Regions from separate parts of the Homo sapiens genome. Here region 2 is linked to region 1. The links are contacts of gene promoters, found by promoter capture Hi-C in blood cells and fetal thymus (Javierre and others, 2016). All regions are on one chromosome and are shown on one strand. Each heading gives the region's core, a stretch centred on a gene start or on the middle of the fragment in contact. The rest is flanking DNA. Distances are from core to core; before and after follow the strand shown. Region 1 holds the start of PARP11 (poly(ADP-ribose) polymerase family member 11). Region 2 holds the start of FGF6 (fibroblast growth factor 6).

What was found. The method cuts DNA at HindIII sites, captures the fragments that hold promoters and counts their contacts. A CHiCAGO score of 5 or more calls a contact.
Region 2: a contact is called between the fragment with the promoter of FGF6 here and the fragment with the promoter of PARP11 in region 1, in 1 of 17 cell types (monocytes). The highest score is 5.9, in monocytes.

The regions. Positions count from the first base shown.
Region 1 is chr12:3,869,023-3,875,155 of GRCh38, forward strand. PARP11 (poly(ADP-ribose) polymerase family member 11) reads right to left here and starts at 4,377. Exons shown (of 8, transcript NM_020367.6): 1 at 4,190-4,377. The coding sequence starts at 4,207. PARP11-AS1 (PARP11 antisense RNA 1) reads left to right here and starts at 1,150. Exons shown (of 2, transcript NR_183432.1): 1 at 1,150-2,934. RefSeq lists a silencer at 4,045-4,154 and enhancers at 4,826-5,346, 5,347-5,866. The HindIII fragment of the contact is 6,718 bases long and covers 2,996-6,133 here.
Region 2 is chr12:4,442,162-4,447,635 of GRCh38, forward strand. FGF6 (fibroblast growth factor 6) reads right to left here and starts at 3,654. Exons shown (of 3, transcript NM_020996.3): 1 at 3,064-3,654; 2 at 1,972-2,075. The coding sequence starts at 3,409. RefSeq lists an enhancer at 1-338. The HindIII fragment of the contact is 8,014 bases long and covers 1-5,474 here.

The sequences.
Region 1 (6,133 bases), core at 3,127-5,626:
TACCTTGGCTTGTGACCTCCTTCCTTCATCTCCAAAGTCAGCCATGTTGTATCTCTTTGACCATTCTTCCATAGTCACTCCATGTCTTTTGTCCCCATGTTCTACTTTTAAGGACCCTTGCGATTACTTTGGGGCCCCCCTGGATAATCCAAGGTAATCTCTTTATCTTAAGGTCAGCTGATTAGCTAATTACCTCCCTTTTGCCATGTAACAACATATTTACAGATTCTGGGTATTAATATGTGGATATCTTTAGGAGGCCATTATTACGTCTACCATATTTTCTAATACATAAACTCATTTTCCACACATCAGCCAGAGTAATCTTTTTAAAAACATAAATATGTTCATGACACTTCCTTCAATGTGTTACCACTCCTCTAAGGATAAAGTTCAAAATCCTAAACATGTGCCTCAAATCCATGCATGGCCTGGTTCCTACCTCCTGGGCTTGTCTTCTGGTGCACTGTGTCCCAGCCACATAGGCTTCTCTCTTTTTCTCAAGCACCAAGCTCCTTTCTTTCTCAGGATCTTTGCTCACACTATCTCTGCTGTCTGAACAGCTCTCCCCACCTTCCAGCCAACCTTTACCTGGCTAACGCTTGCTCAATCCTTCAGATCTCTATAAAAGTTACTTTCACAGGGTGGCCTTTCCTGATTGCCCAGTCTAGTATTAGCTCCCCCTACACTGTCATAGTACTCTTTTTCTTTCATATCTTTTTATCACAATTTAAATTAAATGTATTTGCATAATTATTTGTTTAATATCTGCCTGCCTGCACCAGACTGCAAACCCATAAAGGCTGGAGCCTAGTCTGTTCTGTTCACCACTGTAAACCCTGGGACTTCGCACTAACTAGCTTATAACAGGTGCTCAATAAATAAGTGAGTGACATTACATGTTATTATATGACCAGCAGGCAGGTAGAGTATATGCAGTGTGGATATGCTGGACAAAGGGATGATTCGTGGCCCCAGGCAGGATGGAGCACAATGGCATGAGATTTTATCACACTACACAGTACAGTATGCAACTTAAAAGTTATTAATTGTTCATTTCTGGAATTTTCCATTTCATATTTTCAGACCGCAGCTGACTTCTGGTAAGTGAAATTGTGGTAAGTGAAACCAGGAAAGCGAAACTAAAATAAACTAACAAATTACTAGAGAAACCCACACGTAGAATGTTGATTTTTAAAACCAAATTGCGCTTACTGATATCATTCATATGCTTATAGGAAGAAAAACTATTAGTAGTAATAAAATACAGTAGCAGTAAGACAAATATGTCTTATTTGGGTGGCAAAAGAAGAATGTGAGATGATCTGTGGAGGATTCCCCACTTTTAACAAAAGTCAGCCTGCTCTGCTGAAATTAGCAAAATCACACAGGTGATTTCAAAGAAAACCCATTGCTTACAAAGAAATGAGATAATGATATAACAAATCAAGTATATAAGACATTCATTAATGCCTTTATAATTCTCACAAACACACAAATAATCCAACAGCAAATTCTGATGTATGTGTGACGCAGGAGGGAAAATTCATAGTAGGAGCAAAGAATTATCTTTAGTCCTTGCTGGTACAACCACCATCATGAATTCAACAAATATTTATTGAGTGCCTACTATGTGTCAGGTTCTGTTCTCTAGTTGAAGATACTATAGGAAAAATAACAGAGAAAAACCCCTGTCCTTGTGGATCTTACAATATAGTGAAAGATTTAAAACCTTGAGTAAGACATATACTTGGGTGGCTAAAGGGTTTGTTATGGAAAAATTAAGAAGGACTGATAACAAAAAGGGAATAATAGCTACATAAAGATATAAATACAAAATGAAGGTTGTTGATGACAGATAGTGAAACTGAATATATAAGCAGAGAGCACATTCTCATTATTCTAAATTATTTTTGCTAAAATCAAATACAAGTAATTACTTTCCTCTAATGCAGCTTGAAGAGAGTATTATACGTATGAATCGAAAATACTAAGATGATGACTATTGTTATATGATGCACAAGAAGGAACCATAATGTGCAACTACCAAATCCAGACCAACAGACTAGTTTCTACTGGATAAAAACTTAACTTAAAAACATAGGGAAATGTACTGATAAACTTTCTAACTTATCTGGAAATATATTCCAGAAATGAGAGGGGAAGAATACTGATTATAGGAAATTATTGCAAATATGGAAATTAGGGGTTATTAAAGTAAATTTATGCAGTTATCTCAGCATAGGAGTAGTTTCTTATGTTTCATACACAATTATGCATTGCATAAAAGCTTTCAGTCAACCATGGATCGCATATACAAGTGGTCCCAAAGATTGTTAACACTTTATTTTACTGTATCTTTTCTATGTTTAGATACATAAATACTTTCCATTGTGTTACGAATGCCTACAGTATTCAGTACAATACTATGCTGTACAGATTTCTAGGTTAAGAGCAATAGGCTATTCCATATAGCCTTAGGTGTGTAGCAGGCTTATGAAAGTACACTCTATGACGTTGGCACAATGAAAAAAATCACCCAGCAATGAACTTCTCAGAACATATCCCCATTGTTAGGAGGCGCACGACTGTATTTAGTCCAACAACTTGCTGAAATGTGATTCTACCATTTTTCCAGTCAACTCCTAAGTTTTAAATACCATACATCTGCCACCTTACCAGGCAGTTTCAACCATAACAACAGAAGAATACTCTTGGCAAATAGATCCCACTCTCTGAGGGTTGTGTTGGGGCTCAGAAAATACTACCCCGAAGTATGACACTTTGGCATGCTGAATACTTTGAACTAAAAGAGATTGGAAGGCCTCAGAAGCAGCCTCGGAAGCAGTCTCTCCCTCTGATCTCCTGCCCTTCTGTCTCCTGCCCATCTTTCGTCCCAGAAGTGAGTCACAGAAACCAGAATTCTTCCCCAAGGTGAGTGATAGAAACTAGGATCCCTCTCCTACAAAGCAAGCCATAAAAACTGGAACTATTAAGCTTTCCCTGCCATTGTCTATAGGAACTGGCCATAAAGAAATTCTCTAATCTACCTTGCCTGATAGTAGGTCGCTAAGACCCTCATTCCAGAAGGGACCTTCCTCCTCCGTAGGAGGAAGAAATGATACACAGAGAGGCCAAGAAGAATCTGAACAAACAGACCTTGCTGGGCTTCCTTCCTCAGTTTATTAACATTAGAGTATATCCTTTGTCCAGTCACATTTTTACACAGTTGTCTATTCTTCATGGGTCCTACGCATAAAAATAGAGATCTCCCTGGTCTCTGAAGTGCCTGGTGGTGTAAAACTTTGATTAGATTTGCTCTGCTTTTACCTTGTTAACCTATCTTCTGTTTTAAGGAGTGGTGGCTGTGATCCTTACAATGGGTGGTGAGGAAAGGTACTAAAGTTTTCGGCCCCTACGTTGCACTTTAAATAAATAAATGTATAAAAGCAAAGTAGACAAAGACACATGAAGTCATAATGAAAATACCAGAGTCAGCCAAGGAAGAAGGCAGACTTGCAGTTGAAATGCTCCAGATCACTTTGTCCACCGAACGAAAACATCTAAGAACATACAGTCCATACTCCAAGTTTTAAACGACTGTCCACCAAGAAGGGAAAAGGAGAACTGATGGCTCCTCTTAGGCCCATTCAAGACAAGGGGGTCCCAATTCCCTTGCTTTAGACTGGTGGGACTGGCAGGTAAACCTGAGGCAAATGACTGACTACAGGTTCCAAGGCCAGTTACTCCAATTAGAAAGCAAAACACAAAGTTTCAAAAAACAGTGAAGGCAGTCGGGAGGCTGAGGCACGACAATCGCTTTAACCCGGGAGACGGAGGTTGCGGTGGGCCGAGATCACGCCACTGCACTCCAGCCTGGACAACAGTGCGAGACTCCGTCTCAAAAACAACAACAACAACAAATGGTGAAGGGATGAGGCTGAAACATCACGGGAAGTAAAATAAATAATTGTAACAAGAAAACAATAAAGCATTGGAGAATCCACCCAGGCACTTCCACTGCTTAAAAAGGTACAGACTACAGAAGCCAAAAGGCCCGGGAACTCCGGTCCCGGAACTCAACACCCAGACTGAAGCGAGCGCGGGGAAGCAGTTCCGGTGACCCCCTCCCGCCCCTCTCTCATCAACCCCGCCCCCTGGGCCCGCCCCGTCCCGCCCGGCTACTCACTGGATTCGCTTCCCACATAACGGTGACAAAATCGAGCGGAGAGAGCCTGTGGGAAGGGGCTAGCCGCGGGGCCTGGGTGTTGGATTTTTTTTTTTCCCGCGGGTCCCCGGGAGCGAAGGGACGGAGATGCAACCTTTACGAAGGCCTTCCTCCTCCCCCTCCCTGTCACAAGCCAGCGTTTACAGACCACCCAACCTCCCGACTTCCGCCCGACGTTGGCCAGTCAGATCTGTCTCCGCCCCACTCCTACAAGCTCGCCCCGCCCCTGCACGCTTATCCATACGCGCGCGGGCGGTCGTCCTGGGCGGGGCTTGCGAGTCTGTGTCTGACGAAGGAGTTTAAAGGGTTTCTGGTCCAACTGTATCACCCAGTGATCTTAAAGCCACGGCTGGCTGTATTTCTTTCCTATGAAACAAATTTTTATTGATCACCGTGTAACGACCAAGAGTCACACAGGCCTGGCAATGGCATTTGGGAGAAACTTCATAATCTTTCAATATCTTCATCCTCAAAATGGAGATGGTAGTAATATCTCCCTATGAGTGAGATTATTGAAAGCATTTAGCACAGTATTTGGCACACAGAGTTCAATAAGTGACGGTTATTTGCTCACAAGGGAACCTTTACATACTATCCCTGCCCTCAAGATTTTATAATCTAGAAAAGAAAGCAAAAAGTAGTTTAGAAAAGTTAAAAAGTGCAATATGATTTATAGGTAATATGGTGAATAGAGAGTGCTATGCGAGCATATTTACCTAGAGTAGAGTGTCAGGAAAGCTCCCTCAAGATGTTTAAAACCATGAGGATGTATTCCTACTGATGTAAAGAGAGCTAACAGAGTGAAATAATCTTCCATGCAACAAAGGATCTACCCCATAGGAAATGAAAATTAAACAGCTCATTATAGATCCTTCTGGACTTTTCTATGCCTCTACACATTGAAAAAAATGTAATCAAAGAATACCTATAGATTTAGAACCTGATTTTTTTTTCACTTTAAAGATTATGTGGCTATCCTTCCATTCCATTAAGTTTAAATCTGTTTCATCATTTTATTTATTTATTTAGGCAGAACCTCGCTCTGTCGCCCAGGCTGGAGCGCAGTGGCGCCATTTTGGCTCACTGCAACCTCCGCCTCCCGAGTTCAAGCGATTCCCGTGCCTCAGGCTCCTGAGTAGCTGGGATTACAGATGTGCGCCACCACGTCCCGCGAATTTTTGTATTTTTAGTAGAGACAGGTTTTCGCCATGTTGGCCAGGCCAGTCTCGAACTCCTGACCCCAGGTGATCCACCTGCCTTGGCCTCCCAAAGTGCTGGGATTACAGGTGTGAGCCATCTTGCACCCGGCCATATTTTAAAGTAGACTCATGGCATTCCATAACTTATGCGTATACTACGTACACACAAATAGACACACACATTTGAAATAATCTACTGAATAGACGTTTGAGTGGTTTTCTATTTTTCACTATCCCAAAAAAATCCTTCAACAGGCATTTCTTCACATTTGTCCATTTACTTCTTGGAATTAATTCCTGGAAATAAAATAGTTTACTAAGAGATTATTTTTGCCAAATGGTTGACCAGTTGCCCCCATGTCATTTAGTGAATATTCTTTCCTCACTACTTTGAAGTGCCACTGTTAATTACAACCTAAATTTGCATATACATATACATAGGTATACATACACGTATATATCTGTTTCTGAACATTCTCCTCTATTAATTATCTGCTTATTCCTAAAATATGCCACAGTTATAATCATTACATATTTAATATATTTGCCTTTTCATAAAGGAACCTCTCCTAATTCTCTTCTTTTTCAAAATTTTCAATATCATGGGTCTTTCCATTCAGAAATACTTGTTTTCTGTATCTTTAGATGCATTAACAATTTTTTTTCAGATCTGCATCAGCATCTGTAAAAAAAAAAAAAAAATCAC
Region 2 (5,474 bases), core at 2,404-4,903, 570 kb after region 1:
GTTCATCAACCTGCCTAACCCCCTTTGAAGTCATCAGCCAGTAACGGTGCTGCAGAGTGAGGGCTGGGGGTGGGGTGGTGGGTTTCAGGCATTAGGAGTCAGCCTCCTTTCCTTTTTGCTATTCTGAATGCTCTTCCCCGCTTTGTGGCGCTTTCTCTGATGGTTAAATCGTATATTCCCTTCCCGAGCCTTTCCCAGCTTCTCCTTCCAGGGCCAAGAGATTGAAAGTGGGAAGTGGGTAAATTTCCTCTATATTTGTGCATTTTCTCCTCCCCACAATTAAATTCCTTTCTGGGTAGGAAGAAAAAAGTAATAAATGGTTTGTTGATAAAGGCGACAAGGAGAAAGAAGAGTTTATGAAATTTGTGCTTTCTCCCAGGAGATTTACTTGCTAAAACGTCCCTTGCTTGCATGGAGTCCCACAGCCAACAGCCTAAATTCCCGGCTCTCCCGACCCTATGGGCTTCCGGGCATTATGCAGGCTGGGAAGAAGGGGTTCTTTGGGATGCCCCACCCTACAGAGGGGAAACCTGCTCCATCAAAACCTGGGTTGGTCCCAGGCCTCTTCCTGTCCTCGCCATCACTTTCCCAGAGAGCGGTAACAAGGATATGTCTCTTCTGTCTCATCTCACTCGCCCTCCAGCTTTCAGGTTCAGTGTAACATGGGGAGTGGGTGGTCCCCTGCCCTCCAGAGGCCATGTAGCCTGCTGACCCCCAAGCCTGCCTGTTCCTCAGAAACACCTGGCAAATTTAAAATACAAAAACAAATGGATTTCCAGGCCCACACGCCAGCTCTGCTGAATAAGAATCTCCTAGGTAGGTACCTGGAAATCCATACTTTTAATAAGTTTCCAAGGTGACAGAGATGCAAACTGTCCACAGACCCGTGTGGGAGACCCACTGATTGTAGTGCATGCCGTATGTCCACATAAACCAACCCAGACTGAGAGATGTTAGCACTAAAGATTATGGGGTGGAGGCCACCTGGTGAACCCGTTCTTGTATTTCATAGACCTCCTCTGTTGGGACAGCTCCCCTGGGACCCAGTGCCAGTCCTGGATCTATTTCTTCACATCCCAGTCCTCAGTTTATCCTCCAAGGGGCAGTAGATCAGCTCTCCACACCCTCCCCATAAATAACTTTGATATTTTTTGAGGCCTGCTCTGAGGTCTTCCTTTTTAGCTTGCTTATTTCTGTCAAAGGAACTCTCCATTTCTTCAGCCTCATCGGGATGTTTGCCCCGCCATATTTTGGAATAAGCCAAATGATGGGCCGAGGGCTGCAGGAAAGAGTAGGTCAGTGAGAGCAGAGGTTTTCGTCAATGTGCTTAGAAGCTGGTTGCATTAACCCAAGTGCCAGCATTGGCACTCCCAGAGGTGACCTATGGGGGTGGGGATGGGAATGGGTGGGACTGGTACCAGCCTAAAGTGTATAACGGGTAGGCTGCTTCTCTAGCGTACGTGATCGGAGACCAGAGGATTGAAAACCCTAGTGCAGAATCTCAGCACACTGATGAGGATGAAAATAGCCTCCCATTCCACTCCTCCTGCTGCGCACGAGGCTGGGGCATCTTGCAGGGCGCGTGTCATGGAGCAGCGCACCCAGGCAGAGAGACAGACTTGCTCTCGGGGCCTCGCCAGTGCAGGGAATCACACCTGCTCACAAGCCTGGATGCCAGAATGTGGGTTTCCCTCTGGCCCACGGGCTCCCTGAGCTGTGGTTTCCGTTTAAGCACACGGGCTCCGGCCGGCAGGTGGGAACAGAAGAAGCACGGGCCAGGGCAGAGGACAATCACCCGTGAGGCTGAAGAAGCACAAGCTGCAAGGCCCCTCCCTTTCACAGGCTCCTCTCACAGCCTTTCCTTTCCCATTTAGATAGTCACTTCTCTACTCAGGACTTCATATTATTTTCTTCAACTGTGTAAGCATCAAGCCTTGTAAACCTGGCACTTCCCCGGCCTGGTGAACTCACCGTTGCGTACAATCTTCCTTTACTGTTCATGGCAACGAAGAGGGCACTTCTCACTCCAAAGAGACTCACCACGCCTCGCTCCACAGTGGAAATTTCCAGCAGGCCTGACAAGGAAAGGGGGGCCACATTACCTAAGGCTTGTGCAAATCAGAGTGGGAACTTGAGCCGACAAGGGCATCTCAGTCCATCCCCCTTCTCCTAGAAAGCCAGACTCTCCATTGCCCCATCCATGATCCCTCTAACTCTAGGAGACCCTGGCTGCTGGACTCATCGAGTGCTGCCATTGTGCTGTTAGAAATCCAGTTCTGCAAGGGAAGGTTCTGATAGCAGAGTTAGGGGCTGCAGTGACCACTTAGCTATCTGTTTAAGATGAGCTTTGAATCTGGGCTTTCAGTGACATAATTACTTGAGGTCCTTGACTTGAGTAAAAAAATAAATTCTGATTCTTCTTCTTCTTCTTAATGTGTACTCTACATGTTTCAACAAATCTCAACCCACTTAATCTTGAAAACACAGCAGCCACACCATAGCTGATGGCTTTCTTGGATCCTGCAGCCCCCATCCTTTCTTGGATAGGAGACTAACCATACAGCAAGCTGGCAGCTTGCAGGCAGCTTGCAGGATAAGAACCTGGGGACAGAGGGAGCCGCTGAAATAAAAAGAAGGATGTGCTTCAGTTGGACATTTTGCAATTGAATTTCCCTTCCTTCTCCAAGAAAGAAGCTGAATAAAAATGAGCTTGTGTCAAATTTGATCCAAGTATACTAACTGATTCTCCCTACCCAGGCCTTGGGGGCTTCCCAGACTAATGGTTCCTAATGGTCTTACAAGGCATCAGATGGGCCAGTAATGCTGAAATAGTTAGTGCCACTGAGGATCTAACCAAGGCGATGGCAAAGAACACCAGGATGCTTGGACCGCAGTATATTGAGCTTGCACCCAGGCAGGGTCACGTGGAATCATCTAAGTGGTGAGCAGCATTTCTGCCCCCTTTATCGTGCATCCTGTCCGCTAGAGCAGGGCCCCTTCACCTTTTAGCCCTGCATGAGCCCAAACCCCCAAGCGTCCCGACTGGCTGCAGCTGGCACTCACTGTAGGGGTTCTCCTCGTGGGTCCCGCTGATCCGGCCGTCGGGGAGCACCTGGAGGTGAAAGCCGATGCCCACGTTGCAGTAGAGCCTCCGCTGCCGCTTGATCCCCACCAAATAGCCACTTTCCCAGTTCACCCCGGCAATCTCTCCAGCTAGCCCGGCGCGAGACCTGGACAGCAGGGTGCCCCAGCCCCTCGAGTCCAGCAGCGTGTTGTTGGCACGGGTGCCTGCAGGCGAGGGCACCACCATGCCCACTAGGATGCCTAGGAAGACGAGAGCCCACAGCGTGCCCTGCAGACGTCCTGCTCCCCGGGACATAGTGATGAACAGTTTCTGTCCCAGGGCCATCCACCTTGCCTCTCAGGCACGTGGTCAGAATTAATGGCCCTAAAAATACCGCCCTTCTTGTTTTTCTCCCTCCGGCATGGCGGCAGGGGCTTATTTTTGGAAGGCAGATGAAGGCTGCTGACATGAAACCAAAGCCTCCATCGGGCACTCGGGTTGAGAGCAGAGGGACCCAGGCTGAGCCGCGGCCGGTAGAGACCATGGCTCGGGGACGCTCTCTAGCTCGCCCGCTTGCTCCGTCCCTAGTTGATGATATTTGATTTGACCTATCTTTATAGTTGCTTCAGCAGCCCGGCCCTCCCCTCCACCCATCATCGCCCTGACGTCAACCCGCCCAGCTCACTTATCCAGGGCTGTAACATTAACCTGCTCTTGGGCCTGGCTGCCTCCCCAGACCCCCATCACCCTCCACACTCCCCAGGGGTTCTGGGAGCCACTGTCATTCCAACTATGAGGCAGGAATGAAGTGAGCAGGGAGCATCTCTGGGGGAGGGGGGAGCTGGCTGGGGGCCCAGGGAAAGAGAGAGGCGAGAGGCCACCCAGGACCCATATTGGGCAGAAGTTCTTTGCCTGGCAGCGCTGGCTTCCTTATTTAGAGGGCAATAGGTAGAGGCAGGGATGGGAAAAGGCTTGTGGTAGTGATGACCGTAGCCTCAAGTCACCCTTGAGATCTTTTCATGGAAACAGCTCATGGTGGAGGGGAACACTGAAAGGCCAAACCCTTTCAGCAGGAGGGCACAGACATTCTCAGGGGGTGGGGATGGGGGTTGTTCAAGGAGCTTTAAGATTGTGGAGGGAAGGAGGGCAAGGGCAAGGTTTGCCTGCTCACTGTCCTGGTCCCGACATTCACCTGGGGTGGAAGTTGTGTCTGGCCTTTGACACAGCCCCCTGGCCATTCTCCCTGGATTTATCCCTGGCATGTGACTGATATTATTCCCATTTCACAGATGAGGAAGTTGAGGCTTAGAGAGGATAAATGACCTGCCCGAGTTACCATAGCTAATAAGTAGCAAAGCCAGAACTTCTAAGGTGTGCCTGAGTCTAAAGCCTGTGCATGTCTAATGCTTGCAGTAGAAGTTGGCTGGCCCATAGAGTCTGTTTAGCTCCTTAAATGCCAATAGCACATCACAGAGTTATTTCAGTAGCATAAAATGATTTATTTCTTAAAAAAAACTTGAGTGTCTTTGATGTACATGAGAACTTCTATATTTGCAGATAACTTTTGCTGGGCTGATATTACACTCAGAAACTAGTAAAAATATTTCTGCCAGGAAGTTATTCCTACACTGATTTATCTTATTCCCATATTACTTTTAAATAGATTACATGTCTAACTGAAGTGAGAAAAAAAATGTAAAGCTACCAGAAAACTCACTGCACAAATTTCTATACAATATAAGACAGAACTATTAATACGTCTCTGAGGGTGAATAAGTTAACAAGGGTCGCTGGGGAATTGAATTAACTTGAGTTAAAAATCCTGTTTCTTGTACTTCAATCCAGGCCTTAATCTGTTGGTGAGACATTAGCACTGATTTTGCCGGGATTGGAGAGAGTATGTGTGGGGTGATGACAGTGGCATACAGATGGATTTGAGTGTCCTGAGCAGTAGAGCTGGTCCCAGCAGGCAGCTCCCTTAGCCACACTCTACACCCACATTGCAGGCTGCAGGCAGCCTGGAAAAGCTCCTGGGGTGAGTTCCATGGCCCAAGGACTCTACTGAGGCACCACCGCCTTCCCTCTGATTCTAAACCTTCTGCTGTGCCCTGGGTCCCAGCCTCTGGTCTGTGGCTTCTACCTGCCTTCTCTCTGCCCTTCTGCCTCGTTCACTGGGTTCGATGCTTTGGTTCAAATTTCTGTCAAGCCATGTGTTTAGTGTTGCCCTAGACATGCCTTCTGAAATCCTGTGAAGCCCAGATGTCTGTCTTTACCCTCAGCTGGTAAACTGAATGGGGAGGGACATAGGCACCACTTGTTCCTACTGTCACCACGGCCCCCTGACTTCCCCATTGGCTTCCTCTCCCTTCCACTGCCGTTGTCCCATACCCAATCTCATCATCACCAGCAC